Regions from separate parts of the Homo sapiens genome. Here all the other regions are linked to region 1. Evidence: promoter capture Hi-C in 16 types of primary human blood cells and fetal thymus (Javierre and others, 2016). All regions are on one chromosome and are shown on one strand. The core of a region is centred on a gene start or on the middle of the fragment in contact, and the rest is flanking DNA. Distances in the headings are between cores, read along the strand shown. Region 1 overlaps BRD7 (bromodomain containing 7). Region 2 holds the start of CYLD (CYLD lysine 63 deubiquitinase). Region 3 holds the start of CNEP1R1 (CTD nuclear envelope phosphatase 1 regulatory subunit 1). Region 4 holds the start of HEATR3 (HEAT repeat containing 3). Region 5 holds the start of NKD1-AS1 (NKD1 antisense RNA 1).

Region 1 (2,592 bases), core at 35-2,534:
GCTAACAGGGCTGGTTCTTTGCTAATAATATAGCTAACATTTACTTAGTGCTTACCCATGTGCCAGACACAACTCCATGAGGTAAGTACTACTATTATCCCCACTTTACAGGACAGGAAAAAGGCTGACAAAGGTTACCTGGGCTAAAGTCACACAGCTTCCAAAGGGTAGAGCTAGGACTTGAACCTTGATTGGTCTGATTTCAAAGCCACTATGCTACAAATAGTATTGTTTGTACTACTTTGTTTGTACTACAATGCAGCATTTTACTCAAGTATTTATTTAGGAGATAAAAAGTTACTCTTCATCTGTTCATTCTTCTTTTTTTTTTTTTTTTTTTTTGAGACGGAGTTTCCCTCTTGTTGCCCAGGCTGGAGTGCAGTGGCGTGATCTTGGCTCACCACAACCTCCACCTCCCAGGTTCAAGCGATTCTCCTGCCTCAGCCTCCTGAGTAGCTGGAATTACAGGCATGCACCACCACGCCCAACTAATTTTGTATTTTTAGTAGAGACGGAGTTTTTCCATGTTGGTCATGCTGGTCTCAAACTCCTGACCTCAGATGATCCGCCCACCTCAGCCTCCCAAAGTGTTGGGATTACAGGCATGAGCCACTGTTCCTGGCCTCATCTGTTCATTCTTTATAAAAATAACACGTCTACTAATAGTTGTTATTTGAGTGTAACTGAAAAAATGATGAGTGACTACTCTACAATTTTTTCAATGAACATTCAAAAACAGTTATCTTTGAAAAGACACCATTCACGGAAGGGTGTGCTGGGCTCTCTTGGAGCACAAACTATTAGAAGAGTTAACTCAAAAGGTCTAAATTTAAACGTTTAAAAATCACTGTTGTGACGACCCCTCCCCTGTAGGGTGGAGAGAACAGTCAATAGGAAGCTAATAACACAGGATGGGTGGGGCTCCTCAACAGCAAAAGATCTGAAAAAAAGGAAGACAACAGAGAGAAAGAAAGAGGGAGAGAGGGAAGGGAAAGTGAAGAAAATTTTATTTTCTGTGCTTTCAACCATTCCACACGCCAGTAAAATTCAAGAGATAATGGAATCTTTTGCTTGTTGTATTAACTACATTACTTAAGGAAGTGGTAAATCAAAGGTCATTAAAAATTAGGCTCCCACCACCCAATTCAATGTACATATTTTGGAGTGACTAAAGGCTGCATTTGACAAATGCATTTTTACTTCAAATACATTAACAAGAAGCATTTCCATGTCTTTAAACCTGGAATATGGCATGGTTCTAGATTCTGAGAGTCTTCCTGCAAAGAATGGGTAAACATTTCATATTCCTCTTTCCTCTGCGAATGTTGTCAAAGATGGGTAACTGGCTTCCATTAGTTTCCCAAGTCTTTAGGAAAGGGTGGGAACCAAAGTTGTCTAAATATTAGGAGCGCAAGAATAATCAACAATCCAAACATGTTTTTCTTTCTCTAGTTAAGTGAATCCAAGAATCTCTCAGCCAAGCATACAGACACTCAGACATCTGCACACCAAGGCATTTCTTTAAATGTAAAACTGTAATACAGAAAAATGAATCACCATAAAAATCGAAAAACCACATGCAGATGCACGACTCATTTTTATCATCCTTTAACTCCCCTGAATGTGAGCTCAAGCTCTGGACTCTGATTCCTTTCTCCTTCTACCAGTGTCTTATACCCACTCATTTCTTCTTTGCAAAATCCCTGTCCTATCTTGTGGTTCTTTTTCATAGTATCCTCTCTACTCTACCTCTTATCTAGAATCAGAACAGTAATGCTAGAAATCATCTTGGAGACCACAGACTAAACCCTTCTTTAGGGATGAGAACACTGAGTCCCAGGGTAGTTAATGTCTTGCCCAAAGTCCACAAGTTAGTGGAAGAGAGCTAAAATGAAAACTCTCTTCTGCCTGCCTGCCATGGTATGGTATGGTGCCAGGATCACCCTTGATTCGTTCCCTAAAGTAGTCTCTTACATAGGTTTCTCCCACTCAGAGTGGTGAGAAAAACCTCAAAAGATATGGCTTATCTTGCGAGTTATTTTCTCCAGCGGATGCACAGTGATCATCTCAGCTTACCCTTCAAAGCCTTTTATCAACTGTCGTCCTGGGGACACTAGTAATTTTTTGCCACTGTGTATAATATCTCATGTTTACGCTCTTTCCTGCAGTTTGATGATGATGTGTCTGTGCCTACGCACACACTTCTCTGACCTCAAATGACTTACTATGCACTAATTCTTACCCTTTAAGGAAGAGTCTGCTGTTGTGGAGAGGTGGTTTTGAGACAGTTTCAAATTTTCTCTCATTTGTATATAGTCACATGTAGCTTAATGAAGGGACGCGTTCTGAGAAATGTACTGTTAGGCAATTTTGTTGTGTGACCATCAATGAGTACACTCACACAAACCTAGATGGTATAGCCTATCAGACACCTGGCTAAATGATATAGCCTACTGCTCCTAGGCTAGGAACCTATACAGCATGTTACCATACTGAATACTGCAGACAGCTGTAACACAATGCTAAGTATGTGTGCATTTAAATATAACAAAAGTACAGTAAAAATACAGTATTACAATCTTATGGAACCAC
Region 2 (2,592 bases), core at 65-2,564, 400 kb after region 1:
CTACAGCAGTGTGGTCATGAAGCCTGGAAAACAGGAAGATAGGAGTGACAAAAGAGGGACAGGAGTAGAATGAGGCTTAGGTTTTCAAAAGATGCTCATTTCATTTTGGATGACTATGGCAAGGAAGAGTGGTGGCCTGTCTACTGCTACTGTTAGTCATCACTCATGTGACTGTTTTTATGTATTCATTGGTTTAAATTCCCTGGATCTCCAGAAACATGTCACTTTCCACTGGGGGAAATTTGTGTCATGATTAAAAACACACACACACACACACACACACACACACACACCCCTCCTCCTTTCTCAGTGTTAATCACCTTCTCCTATAATTAGCACTTAAAATGTCAAAGGAGAAGAAATTAATTAACAGGAGTATCCAGTGCAGCAAGGCTCTAGGACTGATTATAAAAAGCACTTCCTTAAATATTTTGAGTGCTTTTGGGAATCAGAAGCCTCCCTTCTAATTGAAAGATCCTTAACTACACCCTAAGTCCTGGCTGGTGGCCAGGGGTGCGGGGCTGAGTGAGGCGGCGTGTGGAAATCCCTTCTTCACCATCCTTGGGAAAATTCCCTCCAAACTGGGATAGGTGGCAACAGAGGTTCGGAAACAGCAAGCGTCCCAGGCTGAATCTGCGGAGGAGGAAGAGATGAACCTTTCCTGAGCTGGTACTGCGTGCCAGGAACTTTAGCTCGGTATTTTGCCACAATCCTGTAAGACAACCGATACTATGATCTCCATTTTACAGATGAGGACATTGAGGCTCAGCGTGGTTGTGACTTCCTCAGGTCACGCAGCCACTGAATGAAAGCGCCAAAGATTCAAACTGAGGTCTGATTCTAAAGCTTTGCTCTCTCACGGCATCCTGGAATCCTATTTCAACCTTCATCTGGACTCTTAACCCAGCCCAAACCTAAGCGTCTACAGTTTTGACAGCTGAGGCGGGAGCACGGGAGGCGGAGCTGGTGGCAGCGCAGCGCCCCGCCCCGGCTCCAGCATCAGCCAATGGTGACGCGGCACCCACAGCCTTTCGCCCAATCAGCTTGAGCTTCCCGCCTCCATCCGCCGCTCTTCTCTGCCCCGCCCCTTCGCTTTCCCTTTGGTTCCACCGAGCTTGACAGAGCGGAAAGTCCCTTCGGCCGGCGCCGGGCTGGCAGCCATTGGAGGAAGGTCTGTCACAGGGAGGCCCAATCACGGCCCGCTCAGGAGCGCAGCTCGGCCTACGATTGGCTAGCGCGGCGGCTGCCCCCTCCGCCCCCGCTCCCTCCCTCTTCCCTGTGCGGTTCGGAGGCGGGGCAGGTGGGGGCGGGCCCAGGTAGCAGGTTTGGCTGCGCGGGGGCCGCGCGTCGGAGGTAAATACTAGGGCGGTGGGTGTGGGGAGCCGGGGCCGGCCCGGGACGCGGGCTGGGGAGCCGGGGCGAGGGGCGACGCCCCGCCGCCCGAGGTTAGTGAATGAGCGGGCGGCTGGCGGCCGGCGGGCGGCCGGATCCCCTCGGCGCAGCCGCCTGGCCTCAGGGCGTCCGGAGCCGCCGCGGCGACCATCGGGCCCTCGGCGCCGGCCCGTTAGTTGCCCGGGCCCGAGCCGGCCGGGCCCGCGGGTTGCCGAGCCCGCTGACGTCAGCCCGGGTTTCCCCCCCCCACCGGGGCTTCCCCATCCCCCGAGGCTTCCCGGGAGGGCTGCGAGTCCGGGGAGCGTGCGGGGTCGCCACCATCGGGACCCCCAGAGGAGAGAGGACTTGGGGCGGGAGCCGCGCGGGACGCTGTCCCCCTCCCGCCCCCCACCCCATTTACAGATTGGGAGACTGAGGCACAGGCCGCTGGCGGGCCCCGACGGCCACGGTTGGCCTCAGGAGCCCGGGGCTGTGATTCCTACCGACCGCGCCGCGGGGCGTACGTACCGATCGATTTTGCGGGTGTTGGTGGCTCCCGTCCAGGAATGGCAGTCGGGGTTCTGGCCTTGTTAATGGCGTGTTCTGCTTTTTCTTTCAGTTTCCCCCTTTCTAGGGTGAGGATGGTTCTACACAGCCACCCGGAGTTCCTTAGTTGAAAGGTGCGCCCTGCTGTGACAGGTATTCTTTCTTTATGTTTTTCTTTCATGTTAACAATCGAGGGGGGTGGGGGGCGAATGGGGGGCGGGGGCGAAGTCATGAAATCTTCAGGAGATGGTGTTGAGTTTGGTACTCAGCTGGGTCAGCTGCCGGTTATTCATGTACTTGGCATCGTTTCTCTTCCACCCCTTGGCATTTGAATGTTTTAGGATAGTTGTCATCTTCCAGCCACCAAGCCTGTGGCCTTGCAGTCTCCCAGCCCCCATCATCCCTGCCACCTTCTTCTCCTCAATTTTTCCTGGAAAGTTTTATCCTTAGCTCAGCTAAGGAGCATGCCTACCTTGCTTTTGAATTCGGGCTAATTAGGGATCTTAATAAGATTGTTCATTTTGCAATCATTGGCTCTCAGAGAAGCACCCAGGCCTTGAGAGGGTGTTCGTTTGATTGTTGGCTTTCTACACACCCCCTCACGCCCCAAGTAGACTGAATGGCCTTAAGAATTTAGCCTCCCATTCCCCACTGAGCAGTAGGTGGATTTGAACT
Region 3 (2,592 bases), core at 32-2,531, 310 kb before region 1:
ATATTGCTTGTTTAGCTGCTAGAGGAAAAAAACGAACATTGTGGCAGTTAGAACATCGTTTATTCTTTAAGTGTCTGGGTCTTGAGTGATTTAACCCTTGCCTGGCAGGGCCTTAGGTCTTGTTTATAAGTTGGTATGTTACTGCCACAAAAAAATCTAGCCCATCAGTCTTAGATTCTTTTTTTTTTCTTTTTCTTTTTTGACAGTCTCACGCTGTCACCCAGGCTGGAGTGCAGTGGCTCACTGCAACCTCCGTCTCCTGGGTTCAAGTGACTCTCGTGCCTCAGCCTCCCAAAGAGCTGGGATTACAGGCATGCACCACCACGTCTGGATAATTTTTTTGTATTTTCAGTAGAAACAGGGTTTTGTCATGTTGCCCAGGCTGGTCTCAACTCCTGACCTCAAGTGATCCACGCGCCTCAGCCTCCCAGAGTGTTGGGATTAACAGGCGTGAGCCACCGCGCCCGGCCAGGATCTCTATTTTAACACAACTATTCTTATTTGAAATCAATTACTTATTTGCATGTTTGTTGCCTGCTGTAGCCCTTCCTCTTTGCGGGCAGGAATCCTGTCTACCTGGCTCACACGCGTATCAATACAGTGTCTAGCATGTTAGGCAATAAAATGATTTTGAATGAAAGAATGCCACCAATAAATGAACAAGAAGGCCTTGTGATCAAATACAAATGTAGTCAATCCCTTACAGATCTCTTCTTAAGTTATAGGTATTTGGGCTTACACTTTGCCTCATTTAGGAATTATGAAAGCTGGGTGATGTGAGAGGAAAGTAACCAAGAGAGAAGTGTTTACTTAAGGGGTTGGTTATCTAGGATACCATAATTAAGGAAACTGGTTATTTAGGGTTCTAGTTAGTTCTGTACAGATTTCATTACTCCTTGAGATCCTTGAGGACAGAACCAGCTCTTTGATTTCTGTATCCCTCGCTAGCGACCAGAATAATGCCTGGAAGGTAGTGGGCGCTCAATCAACATTTGACGAATGAAAGAACCAAGCGGGGAACGGGGGATAAATGAATGAACGAACTGGCTCCGGAGGGCTGCAGTTCCTCCCCGGGGCAGCAGGCGACGCCAGCGTTACGCCCGCCTGGCCGCCGGCAGTTCTTGGTCCCTCCGGCTGACCGTCCAACGCTAGGCGCCGAGGCCGGTGCAAGAGACAGCCAATAGAAAGCTGTCTTAGTTGGAGGTCTAGTAGAGGAATCCAATGAGCGTAGCGGGTCTAGGCAAGGGGCGGTGCGACGGGGAGGGGCAGCGGGGAGCGGTTAGAGGTGGGAGTTGGCGCTGCGGGCCGGGCGGGGGCCGCGGAAGCTGCGATGCGGACAGGGCAGCGGCGGTGACCCGAGCTGCCGCCCGACATGAACTCGCTGGAGCAGGCGGAAGGTAGGGTGGGCCGCCCGGGCCCGTCCCCCGTCTCCCCTCGGAAGCTGGCGGTGCTCCGGAGGAGCCGGCGTCGTGAAGACCCCCGCCCCGGGAGGAGGCCGCAGAGGATGGAGCTAGGGGCCCGGAGCTTGGGGGCGCGTAGGCGGCCGTACCTGGCCAGACGCGGGGGGCGGTGCCTCAGCTCCCTGAGTCCCCACAAACCTAGAGGGTCGACCTCCTCGCCAGCTTCTATTTTTATTTTCTTTTCACTGGCAGACACTTGCACTTCGTGCATTGCAGCCTGCTAATTCATTTCATTTCATTCTCACAGCCCCGCGAGTTGTATCCCTGATTCCTGCGGTGGTTTCCGGTAACTGCCAAGGTTAGGAAGTGCTGCTCGGTGTTTTAAAGTTTAAAGCACACCACTGCGGAAAGGATACCCCACCACTCACTCGGAGCAGCTTAGACGCCCCTGTCTTCTAGAACTAGGCGCTGCCTGGGTGCCACGAAGATCACCTGTACCCCTTCGGAGGGGGCAAGGGGAATGTCTTTCCACACCCACTCGCTATCAGTGTCAAGAAGTCTAGTAAGGCCAGACGGCGTAGCCATTAATTAAATATAAGAGCTGGAAACCGGAGGCGGGTAATTGCAGTCAGGTAGACCTCGAAGACTTTGATGTTAGGCACTACGTGGTTCTAATAGGAAGTTCTTGGTTCCCAGAGAGCTAAAACTCGACCTGATTTTAATTTTATTTGCAACCCTGAAAATGTTCGCTTTTGGCGCTGGCCGAGGCTGCTGCTTATTTCTCCCAATACCATTTATGAAGCTTCTAAAAGTAAATCAGCAAGTTTTCTTATATGAGAAATTGGAATTAAAGAGCCCTAATTTTTTGTCAAGTGCTTAAAAAGCTGTCATAGTAAATGAAATAAACAGTGCAGTGATACATGGAAGTTAGTGTGTAAGACCTGAAGCAGTTAAGAGTATCTCACATGTCGTCTTAATGTTAGGTAAATACTCTGACATTTCGTCAGACGAGTAAGAGTGGCTAATTAGAAAATTGACATCTTTATACCTAGATCTCAAGGCTTTTGAGAGGAGACTTACTGAATATATTCATTGTTTGCAACCTGCTACTGGACGCTGGAGAAGTAAGTTCCTGAATGTTATTTTAAGGGAAAACTAACAATTGATACTTTTATCCTAATATAGGAATGAT
Region 4 (2,592 bases), core at 70-2,569, 270 kb before region 1:
TAATAATAAAAAAAAAATAGCTGGGCATGGTGGCACATACCTGTAATCTCAGCTACTTAGGAGGCTAAGGCAGGAGGACTGCTTGAACTCCAAGGCAGAGGTTACAATAAGCCGAGATCGCACCATTGCACTCCAGCCTGGACAGCAGAGTGAGACTCTGTTTCAAAAACAAAAAGAAAAAAAGAAAATTGACCCAAAGCTATGCATATATTGAGTACTCACTCGTTACATGTCTAATTATAAAGACCACCTAAGATTCTCCTGTACTTTTCCCTCTGCTTAGTATTTACCACAATTATAACCAAAGTTATTCATATAATTATATATTCAACAGATCTCTCCCTGGACTGTAAATTCCATAAGGACAGGGAGAGAGGACAGGAACCAAACTGTCTTGATTACTGCTTTATTCCAATGCCCAGCACTGTACCTAGTACTCAACAAATATCTGCAAAAGAATCTCTTTGTTAAATACGTTTCCAAACATTTACATAGTGCTTAGTATCTGCCAGTCTCTGTTCTTAGCACCTTAAACATATGAACACATTTAGTCTTCGTAACAACTCCATGAGGTATATACTATCGATGTCCCCACTTCACTGATGAGGAAACTAAGGCAGGGAGATTAGGTTCTTAAGCGATTCTGTTTTATCAAATATAGACACACATTCGTTCCAAAACATTAACTAGTCTCTGTCTACGACAGGAGCTATGGGAGGTGCTGGGGACACAAAATAAAATCGTGGTTAATGCTTTTTGAGTACCTGCTATATATCAGGCTTGGTGTTAGGCACTTTACAGAACTTTATGAACTTTACAGAACTTACAATAACCTTGCAAGTTAGGTATTCTTAATCACATTTGATTATTTGTAGCCGGTGTTACTAACTTATTGGTTGCTTGATTGATTGATTGAGACAGGGTCTCGCTCTGTCGCCCAGGATGGAGTGCAGTAGCAGGATCACGGCTCACCTCAGCCTCAAACTCCTGGGGTCAAGTGATCCTCCGGCTTCAACGTCCCAAGTAGCTGGGACTACACACACACGCCACTATGCCCAGATAATTTTTAATTTTTTTGGTGGGGAGGACAGGGAGTGGAGTGTTTTCCTATGTTGCCCAAGATGGTCTCGAACTTCTGGCCTCAAGTGATCCTCTCGCCCGGGTCGGCGTTACTATTCTAGTCCAACCTCCTACTTACCCGGTAAACCCACAAGGCTCCGCCCCTTTGCCGAAGCTGGCCCCGCCTATGCCCTCTTCCACGCCTGCGCGCTCCGTGCGCCAGTTCCCCCCACCCCGCCCCGCCCCAACCCCGACCCGGCAGACGACGCGCCGTGCGCCTGCGCACGGCTTGCCCATGTGTGCTGCAGCCGTCAGCCGGCCCAGCTGAGCAGCAGCAACGGACCTTGTTAACGGCGCGGCAGCCTCCACCGCCTGCTGTTGCCCTCCTCTCTCGGTGGTCTGTCCGCCCAGCGCACGTCACCATGGGCAAGAGCCGGACGAAGCGCTTCAAGCGACCTCAGTTCTCCCCTACGGGCGACTGTCAGGCCGAGGCGGCTGCGGCGGCGAATGGGACCGGAGGCGAGGAGGACGACGGGCCGGCGGCGGAGCTGCTGGAAAAGGTGAGGCGAGGGCTCCGTCGGGCCGGGAGGCGAGACGAGGTTGCCCCGCGCGCGTGCGCATTGCGCGCCTTCTGACCCTTTTCGCTCTCATCCGCAGCTCCAGCACCCGAGCGCCGAGGTCCGCGAGTGCGCCTGCGCAGGGCTGGCCCGGCTGGTGCAGCAGCGGCCGGCACTCCCGGGCCTGGCGCGACGAGACGCCGTGCGCCGCCTCGGGCCGCTGCTGCTAGACCCCAGCCTGGCCGTCAGGGAGACTGCAGCCGGCGCGCTGAGGTGAGCCAGGAAGGGTGCGGGGCGGTGCCCACCGCTGGCCTCCCCCGCGTCTGGGCTGCGGGCGGTCGCAGCGGTCACCCAGCGCCTTCTGTGTGCCATCAGGCACTGGCCCGGTCTCCCGTTTGCAGAGATTTGAAGCCAGTCTCCAGGCTCCGGAGAAGCCCAGTATCCCCGCATCTCATCTGTCCACCTGGCTGCTTCACCTGCAGCGTCCACCTGCTCAGGCGTCCTGCCCTCACGCCTTGCGCACGTTTTACACTCTCCAAAAGCCCTCCTTAGGGTCCCTTGCTTGGATGAACTCTTCAGTTCATGTGTCAGGAATCGTTCTAGATGCAGGGGACTTTGAGCAGCCAAGACTTTTGAGCGAGATCTGTTGACAGCCAAGATCCCTGTCTTGGCACAAGTCATGTTGATGGGGAGACAGACAGGAAGCTAGTAAAAAGGTAAAACATAATATTAAATAGTGAGAATTGCTGTGGGAAAACGAGATGATGATGAGTTGGGGGTGGGAAGTTTGAATTGGGTGCTCTTGGGCCGGGCGCGGTGGCACACACCTGTAATCCCATTGCTTTGGGAGGCCAAGGAAGGAGGATCACTGGAGGCCAGGAGTCCAAGGCCAACCTGGGCAACATAGCAAGACCCCGTCTGTAGAAAAATTATAAACAATTAGTCGGGCATGGTGGTGGGTGCCTGTAATCCCAGC
Region 5 (2,592 bases), core at 40-2,539, 280 kb after region 1:
GGTCACACAGCAGACTGAGAACAGAATCTGGCCCCTCACTCCTCACCATTCAGTATGTGCTGGGCATTTGCTGCAGCTAGGGGCTCTGCTGGGCCCTGGGTTCACAGGCACGAGCAAGGTAGGCAGGCCCAGCAGTCACGACATTCACAGGAGGGAGGCAGGGATGAATACATAAATCTGCGAAGGAGCATGGAAGTTTCTAGTAGTGGTTCTCTGCTAAGACGTAAAACCCAGGGAGAGGTAGAGTGAGGAGGCTTTTCTGAGAAGGTGATGTTTCAGCTGAGATGCAGATGCCAGGAAGGAGCCAGCCATGGAAGAATGTAGGGGGAGAGCAGCTATGAGTGAGCAGAACCCCAGAGTGGAGGGAACTTGGTGTTTGGGGAAGAACAAAAAGGAGGCCGATGTGGCATCAGGAATGAGAGTGGGGTGGTCGGCAAGTGTGGGACCACGCCCTTAGGTTGCGTGGTTCTGCCCAGATGGTTGGGTGGGTGACTGCTGGATTCTGACCTCTGTTTTAAGAAGTTAATTCTGGCTTCTGGGAGGGACTGCCCATGGGCAGGGAGGAAGAGGGCAATGAAACCAGGAGGTGACTGCAGGGTCGCAGGCGAGAGGAGATGGTGCTGGCCTAGCCTGGGAGCTTGGGGCTGGGGAGAGGTCCATGGGGCTGGAGGTTGGAGCTGGTGAGAAGGGGGTTGAGGGAACGAGAGAGATCAGGGATGCATCTTAGACTTTTGGTTTCAGGAACTAAGGATTTGGCGGTGTCACTTCTGAGGTGGAGGTTTTGGCGGGTGACCATCAAGCCTCCCGTTTTTGGACCAGTTGGGTTCAAGATGCCCATTTAACATCCAAGGAGAGGTACCGAGGAGGCCGTGGGATACCTGGTGATTGGAGCTTGGGGTTCAAGGAGCAGTTGGGCAAGAAACAGAGAGAGAGAGCGAGTCAAGACTTCTCAGGAAGTAGCCACGGACATTGCCCGGGACTCTCGGGCAAGGCTCCTCAATACACAGGGCTGGCGGTGGCTTCCCAGGAAGGCTGGGAGGAAGAGGAGTTCATGGGAAGGCAGCAGGGACCCCCAGATGGAGGGGCAGGTGCCCATGCCCCGCCGGCTCCTCTCCCTCAGTTCAGAGCCTGTCCTGTCGGGGGGTGTCAGCGGCCCTGACTCTCCACTCCCCTACAGTCCCCCCAGAAGCTGAGTTGCAGCGGTGACAGAGAACAAGCGGACTTTGTTACCTTGGCAGTTTCTCTCAAGTCTGCTCCTCATAAAAGCTCAGCTGGAACAGTGGAAATTCTGACTTGTGTCAGATACCGGAGAGGCTTTAATAGTTTCAAGTAGCTCGGGGTTAGATTGTAAAAGCCGAATTTCATCACATGTTTTAACTTGGGTGGGGGCGGGCGGGGGAGAGTGGAAGGGACGTGATATTTTTAGCCCACAGAAGGCTTTTTCTCCCCTTTCCCCTTCTCTCCCGGGGCTTCCCCCTCCCTCCCTGAACAGATGTTTCGTCTCAATCCTGTTCAGATGTCAAAGCCGAGTGGCCACCAGCCTTATGCTCTGATGAGGAAAAAAAGGCCAGAATGTTATTTGTTGAGAAGGATTTCCTCCCCTACCCGCTTTTCCCCCTTTTTTGTTTCCCCTCAGTTACAATTGGTCCATAAGCAAAATCTAGTGGCAGTAAAATGCAGCTGGGAGGCAGGATGGTGGAGAAGAAGTCCCTGGTGGCATTTCTGGTCTCAGGAAGGGGCAGACACCCACAGGTGAAAAAGCTGGAAATCACCCTAGAGGGACTGCCCTGGGTGAGTGAATTACTGCTGTGGTGCTGGTGCTGGTGGTTTTTCCTAAAAAGCAGGATCTCAGAGAGACGGATTTGTTAAGTCAGGATTCTTTCGGTTCTTTTGGAAACTCACTTAAACTTTTGGCTCATGAAATTGAAAAATCCTAGGGTAGATCTTGCCTAAAAAGGCCTGTTTGGATTCTGGAGCTAAAACCATGTCATGGACACATGCACGCACACACACACACTCACACACACACGTATACTCACACATTCACACACATGTCTCGCTCGCTGCCCCTCTCTCTCCCTCTCCATCATCTCTCCCTCTGTCCCCTGGTGGCTTCTCCCCCACAGGGGGCAAGGGTGGCAGTTCCCAGCTCTGGGCACTCCCATCCTATGAGCACAGCCCTGTCAGGTGGAAGAAAGTTCCCAGGTCACAGGGGTTCTTGCACATGTTGGACTCACTTTATTGACCACTTTACTGGTCACTTGACCAGGGTAGATCTAGGTTTTATGGGACCTGAAGCTTTCTGGGGCCAAACCAAAATAAATATCTCACCAACTCAGTCTCTCCTTAGCTCATGTCCAGAAATGCCTGTATTTCCCCTAGTATCACCTCACACAGGCAAAGGATGTCAGAATGGTTAGATGACAATCTTAATAGATTGAGGATAAAATGCCTAATTTGGAAAATGTTACAAATACAAACACATATGACCACATAAACACCTTGCAAAGACCCATCCTGACTTGGAAAGGGCCCGTGTAGGTGAGAGGGCCCAGAAGCCTAGCTTCATTAGCTTCTTCATAAACTCTTCTT

The links. The method cuts DNA at HindIII sites, captures the fragments that hold promoters and counts their contacts. A CHiCAGO score of 5 or more calls a contact.
Region 2: a contact is called between the fragment with the promoter of CYLD here and a fragment that was not itself captured in region 1, in 12 of 17 cell types (naive CD4 T cells, total CD4 T cells, naive CD8 T cells and 9 more). The highest score is 21.6, in naive CD4 T cells.
Region 3: a contact is called between the fragment with the promoter of CNEP1R1 here and a fragment that was not itself captured in region 1, in 3 of 17 cell types (neutrophils, naive CD8 T cells and M2 macrophages). The highest score is 7.8, in neutrophils.
Region 4: a contact is called between the fragment with the promoter of HEATR3 here and a fragment that was not itself captured in region 1, in 1 of 17 cell types (neutrophils). The highest score is 7.8, in neutrophils.
Region 5: the fragment with the promoter of NKD1-AS1 here is called in contact with a fragment that was not itself captured in region 1 in 3 of 17 cell types (non-activated CD4 T cells, naive CD4 T cells and activated CD4 T cells); the score reaches 7.0 in non-activated CD4 T cells.

Annotation. Positions count from the first base shown.
Region 1 is chr16:50,336,936-50,339,527 of GRCh38, forward strand. The region is part of intron 6 of BRD7 (bromodomain containing 7); the gene reads right to left. Among named protein-coding and RNA genes, the nearest start is that of BRD7, 31 kb to the right of the region's middle. The HindIII fragment of the contact is 6,225 bases long and covers 1-2,592 here.
Region 2 is chr16:50,740,772-50,743,363 of GRCh38, forward strand. It overlaps CYLD (CYLD lysine 63 deubiquitinase), which reads left to right and starts at 1,315. Exons shown (of 19, transcript NM_001378743.1): 1 at 1,315-1,353; 2 at 1,991-2,070. It overlaps CYLD-AS1 (CYLD antisense RNA 1), which reads right to left and starts at 1,976. Exons shown (of 7, transcript NR_184279.1): 1 at 1,900-1,976; 2 at 557-633; 3 at 1-23. MIR3181 (microRNA 3181) reads left to right here and starts at 1,534; the gene lies at 1,534-1,606. RefSeq lists a silencer at 1,130-1,729 and an enhancer at 1,970-2,069. The HindIII fragment of the contact is 2,791 bases long and covers 845-2,592 here.
Region 3 is chr16:50,023,944-50,026,535 of GRCh38, forward strand. CNEP1R1 (CTD nuclear envelope phosphatase 1 regulatory subunit 1) reads left to right here and starts at 1,282. Exons shown (of 6, transcript NM_001281789.2): 1 at 1,282-1,397; 2 at 2,453-2,524. The coding sequence starts at 1,373. RefSeq lists an enhancer at 971-1,472 and a silencer at 1,286-1,595. The HindIII fragment of the contact is 11,127 bases long and covers 1-2,200 here.
Region 4 is chr16:50,064,651-50,067,242 of GRCh38, forward strand. HEATR3 (HEAT repeat containing 3) reads left to right here and starts at 1,320. Exons shown (of 15, transcript NM_182922.4): 1 at 1,320-1,619; 2 at 1,717-1,889. The coding sequence starts at 1,482. It overlaps HEATR3-AS1 (HEATR3 antisense RNA 1), which reads right to left and starts at 1,674. Exons shown (of 3, transcript NR_186390.1): 1 at 1,403-1,674; 2 at 41-157. RefSeq lists an enhancer at 1,128-1,422 and silencers at 1,273-1,322, 1,653-1,702, 1,783-2,042. The HindIII fragment of the contact is 22,013 bases long and covers 1-2,592 here.
Region 5 is chr16:50,612,361-50,614,952 of GRCh38, forward strand. NKD1-AS1 (NKD1 antisense RNA 1) reads right to left here and starts at 1,290. Exons shown (of 3, transcript XR_007065197.1): 1 at 1,231-1,290. All of the region lies in intron 4 of NKD1 (NKD inhibitor of Wnt signaling pathway 1), which reads left to right. The HindIII fragment of the contact is 2,641 bases long and covers 1-2,296 here.